Linked DNA regions of Homo sapiens: all the other regions are linked to region 6. The links are contacts of gene promoters, found by promoter capture Hi-C in blood cells and fetal thymus (Javierre and others, 2016). All regions are on one chromosome and are shown on one strand. Each heading gives the region's core, a stretch centred on a gene start or on the middle of the fragment in contact. The rest is flanking DNA. Distances are from core to core; before and after follow the strand shown.

The links. Contacts are between HindIII fragments. The CHiCAGO score rates a contact against its expected background, and 5 or more counts as called.
Region 1: a contact is called between a fragment that was not itself captured here and the fragment with the promoter of SSTR4 in region 6, in 2 of 17 cell types (neutrophils and monocytes). The highest score is 9.9, in neutrophils.
Region 2: a contact is called between a fragment that was not itself captured here and the fragment with the promoter of SSTR4 in region 6, in 2 of 17 cell types (neutrophils and monocytes). The highest score is 7.9, in neutrophils.
Region 3: a fragment that was not itself captured here is called in contact with the fragment with the promoter of SSTR4 in region 6 in 1 of 17 cell types (neutrophils); the score reaches 10.0 in neutrophils.
Region 4: a contact is called between a fragment that was not itself captured here and the fragment with the promoter of SSTR4 in region 6, in 2 of 17 cell types (megakaryocytes and M0 macrophages). The highest score is 5.7, in megakaryocytes.
Region 5: a contact is called between a fragment that was not itself captured here and the fragment with the promoter of SSTR4 in region 6, in 1 of 17 cell types (monocytes). The highest score is 6.7, in monocytes.
Region 7: a contact is called between a fragment that was not itself captured here and the fragment with the promoter of SSTR4 in region 6, in 3 of 17 cell types (monocytes, M0 macrophages and neutrophils). The highest score is 9.4, in monocytes.

What each region holds. Positions count from the first base shown.
Region 1 is chr20:23,216,995-23,219,941 of GRCh38, reverse strand. No RefSeq gene overlaps it. Among named protein-coding and RNA genes, the nearest start is that of LINC03125, 70 kb to the right of the region's middle. The HindIII fragment of the contact is 8,690 bases long and covers 1-2,947 here.
Region 2 is chr20:23,190,301-23,193,419 of GRCh38, reverse strand. LINC03125 (long intergenic non-protein coding RNA 3125) reads right to left here. Exons shown (of 6, transcript NR_199692.1): 6 at 3,113-3,119. Among named protein-coding and RNA genes, the nearest start is that of LINC03125, 44 kb to the right of the region's middle. The HindIII fragment of the contact is 1,016 bases long and covers 976-1,991 here.
Region 3 is chr20:23,166,514-23,169,325 of GRCh38, reverse strand. All of the region lies in intron 2 of LINC03125 (long intergenic non-protein coding RNA 3125), which reads right to left. Among named protein-coding and RNA genes, the nearest start is that of LINC03125, 20 kb to the right of the region's middle. The HindIII fragment of the contact is 5,643 bases long and covers 1-2,812 here.
Region 4 is chr20:22,838,198-22,841,060 of GRCh38, reverse strand. No RefSeq gene overlaps it. Among named protein-coding and RNA genes, the nearest start is that of LINC01747, 150 kb to the right of the region's middle. The HindIII fragment of the contact is 571 bases long and covers 972-1,542 here.
Region 5 is chr20:23,273,687-23,276,847 of GRCh38, reverse strand. No RefSeq gene overlaps it. Among named protein-coding and RNA genes, the nearest start is that of NXT1, 76 kb to the left of the region's middle. The HindIII fragment of the contact is 1,066 bases long and covers 839-1,904 here.
Region 6 is chr20:23,033,910-23,037,132 of GRCh38, reverse strand. SSTR4 (somatostatin receptor 4) reads right to left here and starts at 1,821. Exons shown (of 1, transcript NM_001052.4): 1 at 1-1,821. The coding sequence starts at 1,649. The coding sequence ends at 483. RefSeq lists an enhancer at 734-1,280. The HindIII fragment of the contact is 5,481 bases long and covers 1-2,224 here.
Region 7 is chr20:23,256,952-23,259,975 of GRCh38, reverse strand. No RefSeq gene overlaps it. Among named protein-coding and RNA genes, the nearest start is that of NXT1, 92 kb to the left of the region's middle. The HindIII fragment of the contact is 584 bases long and covers 1,125-1,708 here.

The DNA.
Region 1 (2,947 bases), core at 244-2,743, 180 kb before region 6:
AACACCTTTATGCGCACAAACTAGAAAACCTAGAGGAGATGGATAAGTTCTTGGAAATATACAACCCATCTAGATTAAAACAGTAAGAAATAGAAATTCTGAACAGATCAATAACAAGTAGTGAAATTGAAACAGTAATAAAAACATTGCCAACAAAAAAAGCCCAGGACCAGATGAATTCATAGCTGAATTCTATCAGACATTCAAAGAAGAGTTGGTATCAATCCTACTGAAACTATTCCAAAAGATAGAGAAAGAGGGAATGCTTCCTAAATTATTATATGAAGCCAGAATTACCCTAATACCAAAACCAGGAAAAGACATAATTTTAAAAAAAAGAAAACTACAGACCAATATCCCTGATTAACATAGATGCGAAAATCCTCAACAAACTACTAGTGAAACAAATCCAACAGTATATCAAAAAGATAATACAGTATGATCAAGTGGGTTTCATACCAGGGATGCAGGACTGGCTTCACATACACAAGTCAATCAATGTAATGCACCACATAAACACAATTAAAAACCACATGATCATCTCAATAGATGCAGAAAAAGCATTTGACAAAATTCAGCATTCCTTTATGGTTAAAGCCCTCAGCAAAATCGGCATAGAAACGACATACCTTAAAGTTATAACAGCCATCTGTGACAAACCCACAGCCAACATTAAACTGAATGGGAAAAAGTTGAAAGCATTCCCCTGAGAACTGGAACAAGACAAGGATGCCCACTTTTACCACTTGTATTCAACATAGCACTGGAAGTTCTAGCCAGAGTAATCAGACAAGAGAAAGAAATAAAGGGCATTCAAATGGACAAAGAGGAAGTCAAACTGTCAATCTATAAATTCAATGCAATTCCCATCACTGTTTGCTGATGACATGATTGTTTACCTAGAAAACCCTAAAGACTCATCCAAAAAGCTGCTAGATCTGATAAATAAAGTCAGTAAAGTTTCAGGATACAAAATCAAGGTACACAAATTAGTAGCACTGCTATACACCAACAGTGACCAAGCTGAGAATCAAATCAAGAACACAACCCATTTTACAATGCTGCAAAAAATAAAATAGTTAGGAAAATATCTAATCAAAGAGGTAAACGATCTCTACAAGGGAACTACAAAACGCCACTGAAAGAAATCATTGATGACACAAACAAATGGAAACACATCCCATGCTCATGGACAGGTAGAATCAACATTGTGAAAATGACCATACTGCCAAAAGCAATGTATAAATTTAATGCAATTCCCATCAAAATACTATCATAATTCTTCACAGAACTAGAAAAAAATCCTAATATTCATATGGAAACAAAAAAGAGCCCACATAGCCAAAGCAAGACTAAGCAAAAAGAACAAATCTGGAGGTATCACATTACTTGACTTCAGACTATACTACAAGGCTATAGTTATCAAAGCAGCATGGTACTGGTATGAAAACAAGCATGTAGACCAATAGAACAGAATAGAGAACCCAGAAATAAAGCCCAGTACTTACAGTCAACTGATCTTTGACAAAGCAAACAAAAACATCAAGTGGGGAAAGGACACCCTATTCAACAAATGTTTGTGGGATAATTAGCAAGCCACATGTAGAAGAATGAAACTGGATTCTTATCTCTCATCTTACACAAAAATCAAATCAAGATGGATCAAAAACTTAAAACTAAGTCCTGAAACCATAAAAATTCTAGAAGATAACATCAGAAAAATTCATCTATTGGCTTAGGCAAAGACCAGGAACCCAAAAGCAAATGCAACAAAAACAAAGAGAAATAGATGGAAATTAATTAAACTAAAAAACTTCTACACAGCAAAATAAATAATCAGCAGAGTAAATAGACAATCCACAGAGTGGGAGAAAATATTCCCAAACTACGCATCCAACAAAGGACTAATATCTGGAATCTACAAAGAACTTAAAAAATTCAGCAAGAAGAAAACAAATAATCCCACCAAAAAGTGGGCTAAGAACAGAATAGACTACTCTCAAAAGAAGTTATACAAATGGCAACAAACATGTGAAATAATGCTAAACATCACTTTTATCATGGAAATGCAAATCAAAATTACAATGTGATACCACCTTACTCCTGCAAGAATGGCCATAATCAAAAAATCAAAAAATAATAGATGTTGGTGTGGATGTGGTGAAAAGGGAACTGCTGGTGGGAATGTAAATCGGTACGACCGCTATGGAAAACAGTATGGAGAATCCTTAAAGAACTAAGAGTGGAAGTACCATTCGATCTAGTAATTCCACTACTGGGTATCTACCCTGAGGAAAATAAGTCATTATATGTAAAAGATACTTGCACATGCATGTTTATAGCAGCACAATTTGCAATTGCAAAAATATGGAGCCAACCTGAATGCCCATCAACCAACAAGTGGATAAAGAAAATGTGGGATATATCTATATCTATATCTATATCTATATCTATATCTATATCTATATCTATATATCTATATCTATATATCTATATCTTTATCTATACCTATATCTATATATACACACACACCATGGAATACTACTAAGCCATAAAAAGGAACAAAATAATGGCATTAATATCAACCTGGATGGAGTTGGAGACCATTATTCTAAGTAAAGTAACTCAGGAATGGAAAACCAAACATCCTCTGTTCTCACTCATAAGTGAGAACTAAGCGATAAGGACGCAAAGGCACAAGAATGACTCTGGGGACTTGAGAGGAAGTGTAGGAGGGGAGTGAGAGATAAAAGACTACACAATATGTACAGTGTACACTGCTTAGGTGATGGGTGCACCAAGATCTCAGAAATCATCACTAAAGAACTTGTCCATGTAACCAAACACCACCTGTTCCCCCAAAAATATTGAAATAATTAAAAAATTTAAGAAAACCATGATAATGTAGTAAACCCCAAAACTAATTATAAAATCACTTTCACATACA
Region 2 (3,119 bases), core at 234-2,733, 160 kb before region 6:
TTTTTTGCCAAGTCTTGCTTGAGCTCTTGTGAATTAAGTGTTCAGTGTTTTCACCATGCCAGAGCCTCTATACTCAAGAAAATGGGTCTTGATTCACAAGATGATAAACCAGTGGTGTTTTGTAAACCTGCATGCTTGAAGAGAACTACTAAATACTGATAGCATTAATTATGAATAACTGACAAAACTGTTGGTTCCTATCATTCAAGGTTTGTTTCCCCATCAATTAAAAAATTATAGATTTTTTCTTCTTATTCTAGAGAAGTAGATTTTTACAGTCAAGAATTTGAAAATACAGAAGAGTACTGAGACGTGAATAAAAATCTCCTATAACCCACCACAGAGCATGTTGATGTTAATAGCATTGTTTATATACAGACTTACACAATTAAACGGAATCATACAGAAAATGTCATAGAGCCTTAAAAGATCTTTATCATACAGTATTTTCTCGTGGCACACAATACTTTTTTCAAATGCAGGTTTTATGCATTCTACTGCATATGGCATCAAAGTTTATTTATTCCATCCCCTACCATAGTCCATGGTAGTTGTTTCCAAATTTTCATGATTCTATGTTAAACAGTGATAAACACTTTTGGATATTCATATTTGCAATTAACTCATTATCTTCTTAGGATAAATTCCTAGAATTGGAGTGGCTGGGAGGCAGTGTGTGCACATGTTAAAGGTTGGCAAGCCTTGTTGATGTTTGCCCTCCAGAAAGATTGCAGGAGTTCATTTTCCCACAGCAGTGCTGAGCGCCTGTTGCCCTGCCCAGCAGCACTGGGCATGTCTATTCTCATTGGCTTTAAAGATCAGAAACAGAAACAGTAATGTTTTGTGTTTCTTTATGAGATAATCAGTCAGATGCCACCACCAAGGAGACGTGAGAAAGACAAAGTTGACTACACGCACAGTTCCAGAGAGGAGGCCACCACATACAACTCAGGGCCACATTGGAAGCACCAAGCTTTGGTCAGATGGCAGAAGACAGGAGCTAGGGACAGCTTGGACCTCAGTCCTTATTTTGGTTTCGATGGAAAAGGCAAAACAGGGCAGTGTGAACAATTTAGAATTGGCCAATTGGAATAATTTTAGGGGGCTTTTGGTGGTCTCTAGTTGCCTGGTAGCTGGCCCTGGGCTTGTCAAGGTAGAGGAATATTGCCTTTTGAGATGTACAGGCCAGATAGAAGGGAATGGCTCTGGATGGGTTAGTTGGTGCATCAAAGGCATGCTCCCAGCTGAGTCTTCTGCTGTCTCTAAGAACTGGCTAACCCCAGAAGCCATCCTCAGCTAAAAAGTTTTTTTTTTTTTATATCAAATATCATACTCAACAGAAAATAAAAAATATATGCAAAACAGATAAGTAAACAAGTGAGACCTTTTTTTTATATCTGAACTGCAAATTTAAGAGCCTGCCTGGACAGGGGGCAAATCTCCATTCTCTGATGATTTCACATGCAGGGTTGACTATTCTTGAAACCATAAGGCTGAATTTTGTACCCTTTGAGTAGTTTTAGCTGTCAGTCAACATCCTCTGAGTAGATGATAAAAAAGGAAAGCACTTTTCCCCTGAAATTCATTGCAGGTCCTAGGTCTGGAACTGAAATCTCCCTGATGGTCACTGGTTATATTGTTTCTCTGGTTTGGGATACTTTGAAGAGGGCACCTGGAGAAGGGGACCAGGACAGGGCAGGTATGTAAGGGCTGGTGGTGGTCACTGAGGTATGTTTTAACTCTTGTTCTTCTTTCTCCATGCTTGGCTCTTTATATTTGCACATCAACAATCATAGACATGCTTTTTATCAAAAATGAGAGCATATTTGCTTGTGTTCTTGCTGAGGCTATAGGAGCAACAAGAGTTATTGGTCACACTTGGTTGGAGTTTAGATAACCTGAATCCCTACCCGGAACAGAAGTGCCTGCAGGCTGAAGAACTTCCTGAGGTGTCCATAGTGGGTCCCTTTTTGTCAATGGTGGGTAAAGCTTATACACAGTGGCACCAAATATTCTAAAGCCAGAGGTAAAAATCAGCCTCATCTCTTGGCTTCTAATAGCTCTCTCATTTTAATAACATTCACAGAGTCCCTACCATGTAGGAGTTTTATTCTGGAGAAGTGACAAAGTTTGTGGTTGAGATTTATAAACAAAGAGCCATATCTAACAGCTCCATCTATCCACCCACCCATCCACTGATCCATCCATCCATCCATCCATTCATCCATCTATTTATTAATTTATTCATCTGTTTATTGGATTTTTGCTATTGGTCAGCTAAGAAACAAACTCATCTTGTGTCAATTAAGATAAGTATAGTTGTGCTATGTAATTCACACTTAGTGAATTTAAACAACAGTTGATTTCATCTACATGTTACATGTTCAATACAGCTTACCTGGGGGGCTCTACTCCATGTCATTCTTACTCTGAGATTCAAGGTGATGGAAGGACTGCTACCTGGACATTGTAGGTCACTGTTGCAGAGGGAAGGAGAGCTCTGGAGGCAATTAAACTCTTTGGCCTGCAAGAGCAGATGCCATTTCCATCATGACCATTGTCCAGAGCCAGCACATGGCCCCATCTTCCTAGGGGACCAGGGTGGCCAATCCCTCCTTGAGCCTGGAGGTCAGGAATGGCAAGTATTTGCTGAACAGCGTCACTGACCACAGGTCTCCTCTCTGGTCTCAAGACAGATGGTTTCTAGTCACCTCGTGTTAAGATAGTTATTCACTTTGGTCAAGACAAGAGCTGCTCTTTGGTCTGGAGCTGCTGTTAGCGTGGGGAATTGGGCATGGTTTTTTAGAATGTGAATATAGATCTCAGGCCACAGTTTGGTAAACTTCACTGTTTGGAAAAAGTTTCCCTCTTACAGCTTAAATTTTTCTTTGCTACATATTTCAGATGAGGGAGATATAAAAGGGAAAAACAAGACATGCGCACATGTAATCCCAAAGCAAATACACCCAGAACCTCCCTCTCTTCTCTGTCCTGGTTTCATTTTTTATCTTCCTCCTTCCTTCTCAGTCCATGAGGCACTTGTTTCATTTTGGTCATTTTAATACTTGACTATTTCCTACATTAAAAAGAAAATGAGACTACCAATGGCAGAGACATTT
Region 3 (2,812 bases), core at 87-2,586, 130 kb before region 6:
GGCAGTGCAGGCATATTTTCAATGTCATGGAAGGGTATTCACAAGATATCACTACATTTTCAGAAAGCAGATGTAGAGCGTATTCTTTAGCAAGGCATTTGGTGGAGGCGCCATGTTAGCCACACTTGCCAGTTTTCCTACTCACGACTCTCCCCGGGAATGTCTACTCCTGCTCACTTCCCTAGTGGCCAGGTTTGTGTCAGGGACCCTGTTCGAGCCACATTGATAAAACCAGGAATGGAGAGCTGAGCAGAGCTGGGCCAGTTAGATTCTTTCTTTTGAGAATAGAAACAAAGGGTCCCGGCACACAGCCAGTGCTGTGCACAAATGCTTTTGCATTAGGACAACTCAGGGAGGGAGGCCACGCTGTGCCATGAACCAGCAAGAGATGTTCTGCAGCAGGGACACTAGAATAGGGGCAGTGGAGAGAAAAGGCCCAGCAGCCCAGGGAGAGGCAGAGTGAGAGATGAGAGAGAATGAGAATGGCCACGTGGGGATCAGTCATTACCATGAAGCTCAGCTGCATCTCCTAGCCCTTGTCACCTAGAGACACCTCTGTGTCCCTCTGAGAAAATCCCTTCTTTTTCTTGCTTAACATCATTTCTGTTCTTTGCAATCAAATAAGTATTGACAAGAATATGTTCTCCACAGGTGCTGGAGAGGATGTGGAGAAATAGGAACACTTTTACACTGTTGGTGGGACTGTAAACTAGTTCAACCATTGTGGAATACAGTGTGGTGATTCCTCAAGGATCTAGAACTAGAAATACCATTTGACCCAGACATCCCGTTACTGGGTATATACCCAAAGGATTATAAATCATGCTACTATAAAGACACATGCACACATATGTTTATTGCAGCACTATTCACTATAGCAAAGACTTGGAACCAACCCAAATGTCCATCAATGATAGACTGGATTAAGAAAATGTGGCACATATACACCATGGAATACTATGCAGCCATAAAAAATGATGAGTTCATGATATTTGTAAGGACATGGATGAAGCTGGAAACCATCATTCTCAGCAAACTATGGCAAGGACAAAAAACCAAGCACCACATGTTCTCACTCATAGGTGGGAATTGAACAATGAGAACACTTGGACACAGAAAGGGGAACATCACACACCGGGGCCTGTCGTGGGGTTGGGGGAGCAGGGAGAGATAGCATTAGGAGATATACCTAATGTAAATGATGAGTTAATGGGTACAGCACACCAACATGGCACATGGATACATATGTAACAAACATGCACATTGTGCACATGTACCCTAGAACTTAAGGTATAATTTAAAAAAAGGTTGTTGCTACTTGAAGCTATTTCAGATAATTTAAATTATGTTTTGAAACTTCTTAGTATTTTCTATTCTTTTGATAATGATCATTCAAGTATTGTTGTTTTTAAAAAATATCAATGGTAAGTTCCACCACCATTTGTATTTGTAAATAGATTGGTGGCTTTTTATTTTAGTATATATAAAGTGGAACTTTAACTTACCAGCAATTTCACTCGGAGGTTTTTACCCAAGAGAAAGGACAACATGTCTACAAGAAGACTTGTCCTTATGTGCTTGCAGCAGCTTAATTCAGCCAGCGGCCCTAGACTGAAATCAGCCCCCGTGGCCATTTGAGTGAATAAATAAACTGTGATGCATCCATACAATGGAGTATTACTCATCAATAACAAAGAATGAAGTAGTTATTCACAAAACACTGTAACTGATCCAAAGAAGCCAGACAAAAGAAAAACATCCCAACTGAGCCCATCCAAGGAAGGCCTGGGAAAAATTCTATGGCTGAAGATGGGACCTTCTGCAGGGCTTTTCCTGGGATGACCCAGTTTCGTTGTCTCCTGTGTGCTGCCACATTCACACACTGATGCCAAGATCTGCTTTGTTTTGTCTTTGGTGGGGAAAGGCTGTGATAGCTAGTCATGCCAGATGTTTTCTGCTTATACCTCTCAATTAGTGTTTTTTGTTTGTTTGTTTTTTTGTTTGTTTTTGAGACAGAGTCTTGCTTTGTCACCCAGGCTGGAGTACAGTGGTACGATCTTGGCTTACTGCAACCCCCGCCTTCTGGTTCAAGCGATTCTCCTGCCTCAGCCTCCCAAGTATCTGGGATTACAGGCGCCCATCACCATGCCCGGCTAATTTTTGTAATTTTAGTTGATACAGGGTTTCACCATATTGGCCAGGCTGGTGTTGAACTCCTGACCTCAAGTGATCCACTCGCCTCAGCCTCCCAAAGTGCTGGGATTACAGGCACGAGTCACCGTGCCCGGCCATCAATTAGTGTTTTCTAACATTTAAGTTTCTAAAAATTAAAGCCAGGTAGAATAAATGGTTGTGGAAATCTCACAAGAGTGCTCTCACACACAGATCTTACCTTTCTGCACGATGCCACCTGCCCACCTTCCCTCCTTGGCCCTTTTCTCTCTGTGGCAGACCTGGCCGTGTCCCGCCCATCCTCCCAGGGCTCTGCCCAACTTCCCAGGACCTGCTGGTGTAGTCATTCTGGTTCCTAAAGGCTCTTCCCAGAGCCACTGGGGCTGTGCCACCCACACTGCAGGTGCCTGGAAGTGCAGGAAACAAGCATCCCGGGAGGAGCTCCTGGCCAAGGCCCGAGCCAGCTGCTCAGAGCACACCAGCTCCCTTGCCCTGCCCAGGATGCCTCTGAGGCCCGGGGTTTGCCCAGTCTCCTAGAGCCTCTATGCAAGCATTAAGCTCCGTTGCCCACCTAGTAATGCTGGCTTGACAGAGCTCCATTCCATGGCACCATTATCCCCACTTCCCTCCTGGAGATCCC
Region 4 (2,863 bases), core at 8-2,507, 200 kb after region 6:
ATGATTTGCTAGCACTTTGTACTCTGTAGAGTCTGTGGTGTTCAAGGAAAGGGTTTTTATTTCCTAGGGAAGTCAGGTTTTAGGTCCATGTTTGTTTGTTTGTTTTAGAAATTAACAATGTCTTATTAGCATCCAGTGTTAAGATAATAAAGGTTTCTATGCTAAAACATCAGAAATGGTGTTAGCTGATAATTAGGTGTTAGGACTCAGCATGTGAGAAAAGATGACTTAGTCCTCTGCAAGTTGTACTGTCACTACTGTGGGCATTTCTTCAACATGAAATCCTCTCTGTGCTGCCTTTAAGTGGAGAGGATTTCTTGTTTAGTTGTATTAATAAACATAGCAAACAATGAGTCCCAGGCTAGTATAAACATCATTTTCAAAGTATTGACTGGCGTCTTTGTTATTTTTGCTTTCAAGTAGACTGCATAAAGACATTATTGGCTTGCTTCTGCTGATTCTATAAAATAGATATTTGCAAAATCTGAGGCTTGAAACAGGCAGATAGCAGCCCAGAAACTTGATTTTCTTAGTTTTCTTTCTACTACTGCATTGTCTCACGATTCTAAAAACTGGTAGCAGAGCCCAGTGTGGCCATCTCTTCTGTGGTATTCACTGGGAGTCACAGAATTGTGGGCAATTCCTTTGTCATTGTTTTCTTTGTTGTAGGTTTCAGGAGAAACTTTATTAAATTTATAGGTTTTCTTTGAAGTCTTGGATCCTAGTAAAAATAAAAAGAAAAATGTACTTATTGTAAGGAAAAAGAGCACTCATCTCAGTGAGAAAGAAACTGATGGTGTAATAGAGCATATGATTTCAGGATATAAACCATAAAGTCATATTTTTATTCTTCAAAATGGCAAACTTTTACATCTTTACCACAGCAGGCCTGATGAGCTCAGCCTGCTTTCTCCTAGCTCTTTCTTCCTTACACCTTGTTTTTTTTTTCCTTTTTAATACTCACTAAAGCTTTTCGTTATCTATTATAGCATTTTTCTTCTAATATCAATTTGTACTTTTATTTATAAGCAGCAAAAACAATTTTTCCTTAGCATTTCTTTATTTTCTTCCTATGTTGTTGAAAACTTGACATTACAGTGGGTCAGTTCCTTCAATAGCTGTTGAAAAGCCTTAACAGTAAAGTGTAATGGATAGTACCTGCCTGGCCTCGGCCAAGCCCAGCTGTTGCTCTTGCAGGAGGCAGACCTAGAAGAGGGGACTGAGACAGTGTTCCCAAACATGCCTGTCCCTGTTGTCAGAGCTATTCTGCAGCAATCCACTTCATTTCATACATTTCATATCCCATTTTAATTCCTTTAATTAAAGTAAAATTAAAATACCCCTACTGTATACTCGATGGAGTGGTTTCATGTTCCTTATCTTATTTAATTCTCATAAAGTTATTAGGCAAGCCTGATCACTCCTGTTACACACATTTTGTTCCTGGGCTCAGAAATCACAAGGCCCATCTAAAGTTATACAACTCAAAGTGGCAGTTACTTGTGCTATAGAATAAGGTTTAAAATGGATACAATTCAAGCTTTAAAAATGAACACAATTCACACATTGTAAATGTGTTTTCATTAAAATTTGGGTGAGCTTGTTACCCAGATTGTTGACAAAATACAAGGTGTTACTCAGTAACTCACAGCAGCCAGCACTTATCAGGCACCCTAGGACACAGGGGCGCCTACAAGGATGGCCTGGCCCTGCTTAGGTCTTGCTGTCTGGCTGTTGAAAAAGCCATTAGGAGAGGAGAGGGACTCCTGAAGATATTAAAACACACCGACATCACCATGAAGGGGTCACTAAGGATGGAGAGGAGGTGTGTTTCAGAGATAGAAGAGGAAAAACAACAGGATGTTTCAGTTATATTGGATTCGTGCAAAAGTAATAGCGGTCTTTGCCATTATTTTACTTTTGCACTAACCTAATAGCTTCATAAATATTTATGGTGGTGCATATTTCCTGAATTTAACCCATACACATACACCCTAAAATATTCTATTTGACAAACATTTCTCCAGATAGTGCAACAAGCTTCCATTTAATGCTATGGTCCACCTCGGAGAACAGTCTATTAACCAAAGTCTAAAAGATAGACAAGTACCAGTCTTATTCATCAACTCACATCTCTAGGAAAGATGATAGATCTCTTGGCTGGGCGTGGTGGATCACACCTGTAATCCCAGCACTTTGGGAGGCTGAGGCGGGTGGATCACGAGGTAAGGAGTTCAAGACCAGCCTGGCCAAGATGGTGAAACCTAGTCTTTACTAAAAATACAAAAATTCACTGGGCGAGTTGGCAAATACCTGTAATCCAAGCTACTTGGGAGGCTGAGGCAGAAAATTGCTTGAACCCAGGAGGCGGAGGTTGCAGTGAGCCAAGATCGCACCACTGCACTCCAGCCTGGGCGACAGAGCAAGACTCCGAGAAAAAAAAAAGAATGCTGATAGATCTCTTAGGCTCTCATTCCAGGGCCAGCAGAGCCTCCTATCTGGACAACCTGTGTTTAAGCCCAGTCCCCATGACTGCCCTGACTCAGTGAAAGGAAGAGCTGGTCACCATCTGTACAATAAGTATTCCCTGTTGAAAAATGTCATTGGATCACCCTTCAACTTTTTTTATTCAGAAATAAAGCACCTTTATCCTTCCATCTAGGTTGAATTTTCTAAGGATCTAGATTCAACTTACAGAGCAAGGAAATCCTGACAGATTTCTGGCAGAAGATGAGAGAAGAAGCCAACCTTCCACTGTCAGTCCTGCCCATGTGAGCTGGGTCAGCAGAATGTCCAACAAAAATGGCCATGTTGATGGGGCTCCAGGTCCCTCCAGCCCAACCCCAGGTGAAGCTGTCACTCA
Region 5 (3,161 bases), core at 122-2,621, 240 kb before region 6:
GTCAGCTTGTCCTTTGAAGCTTTGAAGCCAGGCATTGACTTCTCCTCTCTAGCTATGAAAGTTCTAGCTGGCATCTTCTTGCGATAGAAGGCTGTTTCATCTATGAAAATCTGTTTAGTTTAGCCACCTTCATTAATTATCTTAGCTAGATCTTGATAACTTGCTGCAGTTTCTTGTGCTTTTACATTATGGCTTTTACAGGTGGCTTCTTTCCTTAAACTTCATAAACCAATCTCTGCTAGCTTCAAACTTTTCTTCTTCAGCTGCCTTACCTCTCTCAACCTTCACTGAATTAGAGCAGAGGGCCTTGCTCTGGATTAGGCTTTGGCTTAAGGGAATGTTGTGGCTAGTTGGATCTTCTAACTCCACCACTAAAACTTTCTCAAATTCAGCAGTAAGGATGTTTCACTTTCTTATTATTCATGTGTTCACTGGAGTAGCACTTTTAATTTTCTTCAAGAACCTTTCCTTTGCATTCACAACTCGAATAACTGTTTGGCACAAGAAGCCTATCTTCTAAGCTTAATGGTTTCTAGCTTTTGATTTAAAGTGAGAAATGTGTGACTCTTCCTTTCACTTGAACACTTAGAGGTTCACCGTAGGATTACTAGTTGTCTTAATTTTAATAGTGTTATGCTTCAGGGAATAGAGAGGCCCAAGGTGAGACAGAGAGATGCGGGAACAGCTGGATGATGGAACAAACATACACAATATTTATTGATTAAATTTACTGTCTTATATGGGTGCAGTTTGTGGTGCCCCAAAACAATTACAATAGTAATATCAAAGATCACTGACCACAGACAACTGTAACAGATATAATAATGACAAAAAAGCTTTAAATATTACAAGAATTACCAAAATGTAACATCGAGACATGAAGTGAACACATGCTGTTGGAAAAATGGCGCCCATAGACTTGCTCAACACAGGGTTGCCATAACACTTCAGTTTGTACAGAATGCAATGCCTGCAAAGCATAATAAAGCAAGAACAATAAAATTAGATATGCCTGTACATCCTACAGGTTCTGTCTCTCTGGAGACCCCGACTAATCCACTTTCTAAGACTCACTGGATGGTTGGATGGAATACATAACCAGCTGAGCACTACTTTAAACTTGTGAAACTTTATATAAGCACCTAAATAAATCAGCAGGTATTACTGATGTTTCCAGTGGGAACTCGAGAAAATCAGGACAACAGCAGAGTTGGCCTGGTGAGTTTTCTCTCTCTCAACCTCCCAAGTCCTCTCAATGAGCAAGTTGTTCTTTGTCCCATAGACACACCCCAGCTATGTCTACTCATTCTCCTCCTTGAGATATTTCTCTGTGTTCTAAGGTTTTTGTTCCTCATATTTCTAATATTCTTCCTTTCCCTTCAAAACCTCCTCTTTCCCATTCATCAGGAATTTGTTTAGAAAATGAAGTGCTGTCATGAATTAAATTATCCAAAGGCACAATGGGCCATGTGGAAAGAGCCGCAGAGACCCACATTCTCACTTCAGCTCTTCCATTCGCTGGTTATGTGACCCTGGTAAGAAATTTAACCTGCTAAGCCTCAGCCTCCTAGTCTGTAAAGAGGGGATGATAGTGGTTAATTCCGTGTATGTGTTGATTAAGTACCTGGCCCGTGGCTGGAAAGCAGAGTGAATTCCACTCTCCCTTCCTCTCCTTCACTGTCTTTGCCTTTTTGTCAAAGGTGGTGATCTATGTTTCTGACAGAAGAGACCCCCACGGTGGAAATACCTGGTGGACTGAGAGGTAAATGGGAAAGGCATGAGGGCATCAGGGCAGCAGGAGGCCCTGAGCTCACAGCCCACAGGCAACATCACCAGGCCAGCCTCTGACGCCAAAACATGGGGAATGTGTCGCAGGCAAAATCCACTTCATAAGCCCTTAAGCTTCATAAGAACGCCATCCGCTTCACCATGGCGCAGACCCAGCACCTCAGGTTAGGTAGGCGTGGAGCCTGCTGAGCTGAGGCTGCTCTGCAGCAAATCTGCAGGGAGAGAGGGTTTGAGTTTCTGGCATAGCCTGGGGACTTATGGGGCAGCGTTTTTCAAATTTGGAATTGTGCAAATTCCTTTTAAATGGGAAAATAATTTTTGTTCTTTTTTGGTGTTGACTTATTTTATTGTAATTTATCTGAATCTGTACAAACCTCAAAGTAGATGTAAGTCCTTGTTGCTTACGGGCCTTAGACCACTATGAAACCAACCCACATTTATAAATTAAATATAAATAAACCCGAAACAATTTAAATTCAGCATTTACAGTTTCTTGCAGTGGGCGTGTTTTGTTGAAACAACTTTGTCTCTGACAACATGGAGTTTGCGCCACCACTGCTTTCAGAGTTAATGTGAGCATTTCCACTGCTATTTGGTGGAATCATATGATGAGGGTCAAAGTTCTGACGTGAAGGGGCCATAATTAGAAAACCATTCTCAGACTCAGACCTGGGACACTGCGGGCCATGAGGAGCGGATGTGCCCACAGCGTTTCAAAACTGTATAATGGAGTTGGAAACATTGCAGGCATAGCACTAGTTTTCATCTGAATGATGCATGAGTTTAGAGAATCCACGGACTTCTTGAAATTGAAGGCAAAGCTTTTTATATTGTGAGTTACCTTCTAGGGTAAGGGATCCCATTGCTTTCATTGGAGTCTGTGCCCCAGTAAATGCTAAGAACCACAGAGCTATGCAGAACTTCCAACCTTCATGTCAAGATACACAAAGAAAAATGTATTTATGGGACAAGTATTTGTGATGACCTGGGGTAATCAAAGGATGTTGCTCTGGCCCCCTGAGTCTGGCTGCCCCGATGCCCTAAGGACCAAGGGGGTCCAGGCTTGGGCCCACTGTGCCCCATGCCTCGCAGGCAGTTTTGGAAGAGGTGCTCCACATCCTTGCCGCTCAGAGTGGGGTCCCTGGACCAGCATGATTGACAGTACCTGGGAGTGTATTGTCCACACATGGCATGGCCTCATTTTCCCAGGGCTTGGCAGGTCAGCAATGCAGAACCTCCATCCCACCAGACCCTCTGAATCAGAATCTGCATTTAGAAGATCCCTGGTAATCCCTGAGTTCATTAAAGGGGGAGACCACTGGGGCATGGGATTGTCCTATACAGACGGTTCCCAAAAAATGTGGTGCAAAGTC
Region 6 (3,223 bases), core at 572-3,071:
CTCAGGAAGAGACATAAAGGGCAGGTGCCTGGGGGCATCTTCCTTCCTCCTCTCTCCTGTACAAGCTGTGCTCCCACCACAAGGCAGAGCGTCTGCAGAGAGGAAGGGTGCTACCTCCCTCCACCTTCTTGAGTCCTCTCCCAAGCAGTGGCTGTAAGGAGTCACACACAGGGACCATTCATTTCTCACCACCTCCTGCTTCCCAGCCCTTGAAGAACAGCCAGAGGTTCAGGAATGATTAATATCCTAGCCCAGTTTCCAGAGGAGTCCTACCCATATGGAAGCATCCTTTTGAAAGCCAGAGTGCAGGGGAGAGGAGAGCAGCAGAAGAGTTCTGACACTCTCCGGCAGGTACATGGGCTGCTGGAAGGAACAGGTGGTGGAGCTTAGGTGAGCATTCAGGAGATGCAGTCTTCGGGGCTGTAGGAATGGTGCCCACCCCTTGGGAGGTGGCCACGCAGGGTGGGTAGGGGAAGGGCTCCTCAGAAGGTGGTGGTCCTGGTGAGGGGGATGCGCTTGCGGCCGGGTTCTGGTTGCAGGGCTTCCTGCTGGCAGGGGAGTGGGGGGCACATGCACCCTGCCCCACCTTTGCTCTTGAGAGCAGTGGCATAGTAGTCCAGGGGCTCCTCCTCAGCACCTCCAGCACCTTCCAGGAGGCAGCAGCGCAGGCAGAGAACCCGCTGGAAGAATCGGCGGAAGTTGTCGGAGAGGAAGCCATAGAGAATGGGGTTGGCGCAGCTGTTGGCATAGCTAAGGATAAGGGACACGTGGTTGACGGTGGCATCAAGGCTGGTCACGAAGAGGTTCAGCAGCTGCACCACGTAGAAAGGCATCCAGCAGAGCACAAAGACGACCACGACCATCAGCACCAGCCTGGTGATTTTCTTCTCCGAGCGCCTGCGCTGCTGCCAGCCAGCGCGCAGGGCCACGGCGCGCATCTTGCCCACGATGAGCAGGTAGCACAGGCCAATGGCCAGCACGGGCAGCAGGAAGCCCAGCAGGAAAGTGTAGACCACGAAGACTGCCGACCAGGCCGGGTGTGGCCACTGCAGGTTGCAGGCCACGGCCTGGCCGCCGCGAGCCGGTCTGGTGTCTGCGAAGATGGCGATGGGGAGAGTGACCAACAGGGATGCCAGCCACACGCCCAGGTTGATGAGCTTGGCCACGCTGGGCCGCCGGTAGGTCGCCGCGCGCAGAGGGTGCACCACGGCCACGTAGCGGTCCACGCTGAGCACGGTGAGACAGAAGACGCTGGTGAACATGTTGAGGCCGTCGACGCTGAGCACCGCGCGGCACAGCACGGAGCCGAAGGGCCAGTGGCGCAGGGCGGCCGACGAGGCCACGAAGGGCACGCTCAGCATGAAGAGCTCGTCGGCTACGGCCAGGTTGAGCAGGTAGATGTTGGTAGCCGTCTTCATCTTGGCGTAGCGAAGGATCACGAAGATGACCAGGGCGTTGCCCACCAGCCCCACCAGGCACACCAGCGCGTAGATGCACTGGATAGCGACCATGCCCGCCGCCCGCGCGTCCCCGGGCCCCGCCACCGCCTCCTCCGCCTCCGCCGGAGCGCTACTGGCATTGGCTGCAGAGGGCCAGGCCGTCCCCAGCCCTTCCTCGCCCCCGGGGGGCAGCGTCGAGGGGGCGCTCATGACCAGGGGTGCCGGCGCAGGGCAGCTGAGCGCGGCGGAGCTAGCGCTGCGCCAGAGAGCTCGGGCGGCGGGCCCAGGGCGGGGGCTGGCGCGCAGACGCGCGGCTCTTCCCGGCTACGCTGAAGAGCTGCGGGCACCGGGGAGCGCCCGCCAATCCCCGCGCCGCGCGCCCCACCGCGCGGGCGCCCGACTGGCTCGCACCGCTGTGGCCCGCGCCCCTCGGCACCCCAGCTCCTGGGGGTCAGCGCCTCACCCAGCCCTGGAGTCGTCTCCGGCCCCGCCCCGTTTTCCCACCTCGGTCGCCCCCTCCCCGCTGCCGACTCTGCCCCAGGTTCCCAGGTCTCCAGTCCGGCTCCAGTGTCAACAGCACCCCCAGCCCCGTCCGGCCCTCCCGGGGTCCCCCGCCTGGCTTCTTTCCTTCAGACCTCTATTCAGATCCCGTCTTCCCCAGCAGCCCTTTGAGGTCCAGTTCCCTGCTTTGCTACAGGGGGTCTGCGGCGGCGGGGCTGGGGGTCCCGGAGTCCTCCCTTTGGGTAAAGATGTGCCCGGAACTGGTCAGGGACCACCTGGAAGCTTGGACCACTTGCCTTGCACTTGACATCCCCTCACCCTGCCCTTTAATCCTCGCGACGACCCATCCTTGCACATGGCTGAGTCCCTTTTATAGAGGCGGAACCTGAGGCTTCCACTGGCGGCTTGGTGAATTTCAGGTCTGTCAGGATGTCCAGTTTTCCCCACAGCTCACCACTCCTTTCTCTGCTCCCCAACCCACTCTGGACAAGTGCAGATGCCGGACCTTTTAACTTCTGTGTCCGAGCAGCTGAGGTGCTATGGGCACAAGGAATGGAGACGGACAGGTGGAGGCAGAGATGCCACCAAAGAAGGCCAAGCCTGTGCTAGCTCCCTCGGGAACTGGCAGAAGCTACGGGAGCCGGACATCTCAGAACCTTCACCCTGTGACCTGGTTCAGTCATTATCCGCGGGTCTCCATCCCTGGCCACTAAAATGTGCCTGGGGAGGACTGTGGTCGAGAGGTCGGGAAAGAAAGGGGTTCCGGCCTGGAATTACCCTTCTTCTGCTAAACTCCAGAGATAGTGAGTTCACTGGCTCCTGGACTGGACACCCAGGAGCAGCCGCCGGCTCCAGCCCTAGTCCCTCTAGCTGGCACAGGGCACAGGAACGTTCCTGAACTGGGGATTGGCCTGGGAAAGTTATTCTTAAAGTAGCTCTGACTTTTAGGATCCTGGCTGTCTTTGGCCCCTTCTCTGTGGGATGGTGGCCCCCTTTAGCCCCCAGTACAGCCCAGAAAGGCCTTTAGTGGGTCTAAAATTGGCCACCTGGGGGGTGGGGTCTCAGCTTTCCGCTGGGTGGCTGGGACAGCGATGGGGAGGAGGGAGTCCTGTTGCAACTGGAGGAGGCCTTTCTAAGACTGGGGGGTGGGGGAAGCTGCCCACTGCTGTTTATCCAGGTGTGGGATGGGAGCACGGGCATGATCAGCACCAGTGCAGCCCCATAGTTGACCTCAACCACTGTCTCCAGTCTCTGCTACTCAAATAGATGTATTGGGAGGATTT
Region 7 (3,024 bases), core at 167-2,666, 220 kb before region 6:
GTTTTTCCTGGGGTTCATGATTGTGTTTTTGTACTTTTCAAATACAAATCACTAATTTATTCTCAAACTCTCCTCCAGTTACTTAAGATATCCACACCAGATACTCTTAATTTCTTTTTCTTGAAGAAGTCTCTCCTAGAGCCCCTGACTCCTCCAGTCTGGACTGAGGTCTAGATCTGGTGCATCACTGCCATCCTGGCATCTTCACTTGGAGTTCCTCCAGAGAGTCTCCTCTCCTCTCCTGTGCTGGATTTTCTGCTTCTTGGATTCTGTCTCACCACATTCTTTGATTCATTCTCTTAATTTGATGGAGTACAAACTCCAGTAGCTTCTTCAGAGAGAGAAGTGAAGGAACATTTCTGAGATCTCACATATTTGAAAATGTCTACAGTCTACCTTCCTACTTAATTGACTGGCTGGTGCTATGATCTGAATGTTGTTTGTCCCCCCAAAATTCTTATGTTGGAACCAAATCCCCAGTGCAATAGTATTAAGAGGTGGGGTTTTTGGGGGGTGATGAGGTCATGAGGGCTCAACCTTCATAAATGGGATTAGTACCCCAGGGAGCTTATCTGTCCCTTCCACCATTTGCATAGACAGGGAGGGGCTGGCTGTCTATGAAGTAGAGACTGAGCACTCGTCAGACACTGAATCTGCTGACACCTTGATCTTGGACTTTACAGCCTCCAGGACTGTGAGAAATTAATTTCAGTTGTTTATAAATTACCCAATCTAAGGCATTATGTTATGGTAGCCTGAATGGAGTAAGACAACCAGGTATAGAATTCTAGGTTGCAAATTATTTACTTTCACAATTGAGAAAGTTTTTGTTTGTTTGTTTGTTTTTTTGTTTTAAGATAGAGTCCCACTCTATCACCCAGGCTGGAGTGCAGTGGAGTGATCTCGGCTCACTGCACTCCAGCCTGGGCAATGGGCTGGGGAGCCTCCACCTCCCTGGTTCAAGCGAGTCTCATGCCTCAGCCTTCTGAGTAGGTGGGATTACAGGCACCTGCCACCACACGCAGCTAAGAGAAAGTCTTATGTCTTTGATTTATGTCTTGTAGCTTCCAGTGTGGCTGCAGAGAAGTCAGATGGCTTGCAACCCTTGATCTTTGGTATAAGCTTTTATGGTTTTGCTCTAGAATGCATAGGGATTTTTGATCTTAGTCTATTTTCTCCCAATGTGCTGGGCTCTTGAAGGGCACTCTCACCCTGGAAATTTTGTCCTGCAGTCATCTTTAGCCAGATTAGCAGGATATATTCCACAATGGTGTGGTTTATGATGCAGCTGGTTGGTTCCCTTGGTCTTGGCAGACAGAGTTTTCCCCTTCCCAGCTATGACTGCCTTGGAGCCTAGAGGAAGTTGAGTCACTTCCTGATACAAATCACAAACTGTGAAAAATGTTATGCTTGCAAGTGAATTTTCCACATATCTGAAGTAATGATGGCATAACAGGAGCTTTAAAAACACCGAGGCTTCATTGACACTAAACTGTAGAGCTTATAAAGTAATATGCAACCCATTGTCAGCTACTGAAAGATGAATGGGCCATTCAGGCTTCCGCTCTGGACTCGCCCAGGTTAATTCCCTCTTGCTCAGCCTAAGTGGCTTAGGAGTGAGCAGGGGGTTATTGGAAAGAGGAGGCTGACTATAAAAAAATCCTAGCAATATTGCATTCTGGGTTTATCAGTCATCAGGCACCAAGCTTTCTCACCAACAACATTTGCACAAATTCAGGCCAACCTCTAATCAATGATGCAATCCTTTCTCCTCTAAAGAAAGCCTTTTGAGTGTTTAATGGCATAATGATGGCTGCTGTTGATAAGGCTCACTCTGGGAGGTATGGCATCGGGCTTTATAAATGCTGCTTTTATGCCTCTGCACTGCGATGCCAGGCAGGGGTGATTATCCTCTCGTGATTTTGAATGAGCTGTGATTGGAACACTGTAGCACACTTGCCCAGGGCAGCAGAGACCAGATTCACATCTAGGTCTTTTTGCTTCAATTCCCCGGCTACTGGGCCACACTTCTCTTGATCCTCAGGTGGAAACATGTATATACTGACAGAGGAGAAAAGGGATGGCAGCCTATGAGGTGACCCTGTGGTGTGAGCATGAAGGCACGCCCTTCTGGGATGGGGGCTGTGTTCCTTTCCAGACAAACCACACAGGATAAAAACTGCTCCTTAGGTAGCACAGGATTATTGAAGGCCCTGAGCCTGGGGCAGAGCCTGGGCTCTGACATTAGCTGTGCCTCCTTGAGAAAGAGCTCTGCGCCTGATATTTTTTATTTGTAGATTGGAAATGAAAGTGCTGGCCTATTTGTGGTCACAGTGCTCTGTGAGGGCTCAGATGAGTAAGGTGTCTGCTAAGCAGTTGTAGAAACCTGGAAGCCCTGAGTGATTTTTTTCACCTGCAACTCCCAACTTCTTCAGTATGCTGGGTGTGGAGCTGAGGAATCGCTGCCCGAATAGACAGGTCTGTGCGCTTAAGTAGCTGGGTGGGTTTCTGCTTACATAGCACTTTTACTGTGGGAGAGAAAAGTGGCCAGCTTCTCTCTGGCCTGGCACTGGTACACTTGCCTTGAGGTGGGGGTGCGTCTCTTGGAACCCGGTGTGGAAGCGGAGCCTCTTCCTCCTGGGTGGGCGTGGGGCCCCTTGGGCTCCAGCCAGGATGGAGGGCAGGGTCTGGGGGAAGTGGGAGGGGCTGGGCTCATCTGCTCCCGGGGGAGGCATCTGTCTCTGTGTCTATTGTGTTTGTGCTCCCGGGGTCAGAACACGCCTTCCAGGGTCTTATCAATGATGAGTGACACTGCAGGGCTGGCCGCTGCTGGGGAAGGTGAGCTATTGGAAAGAACAGGTGGGAAGGTGGGAATAAGGCTTCCAGGGCTGAACTGCCAAATTACGTTTCCTGAGCTGTCCTTGTTATTAAGGGCAAATGCAAAACGACGTGTATGAGGACGTGTGCTCCTGGGTGTTTTTATACATCACCCTTTCTTTTTCTAGCCCTAGATAGGATGATCAG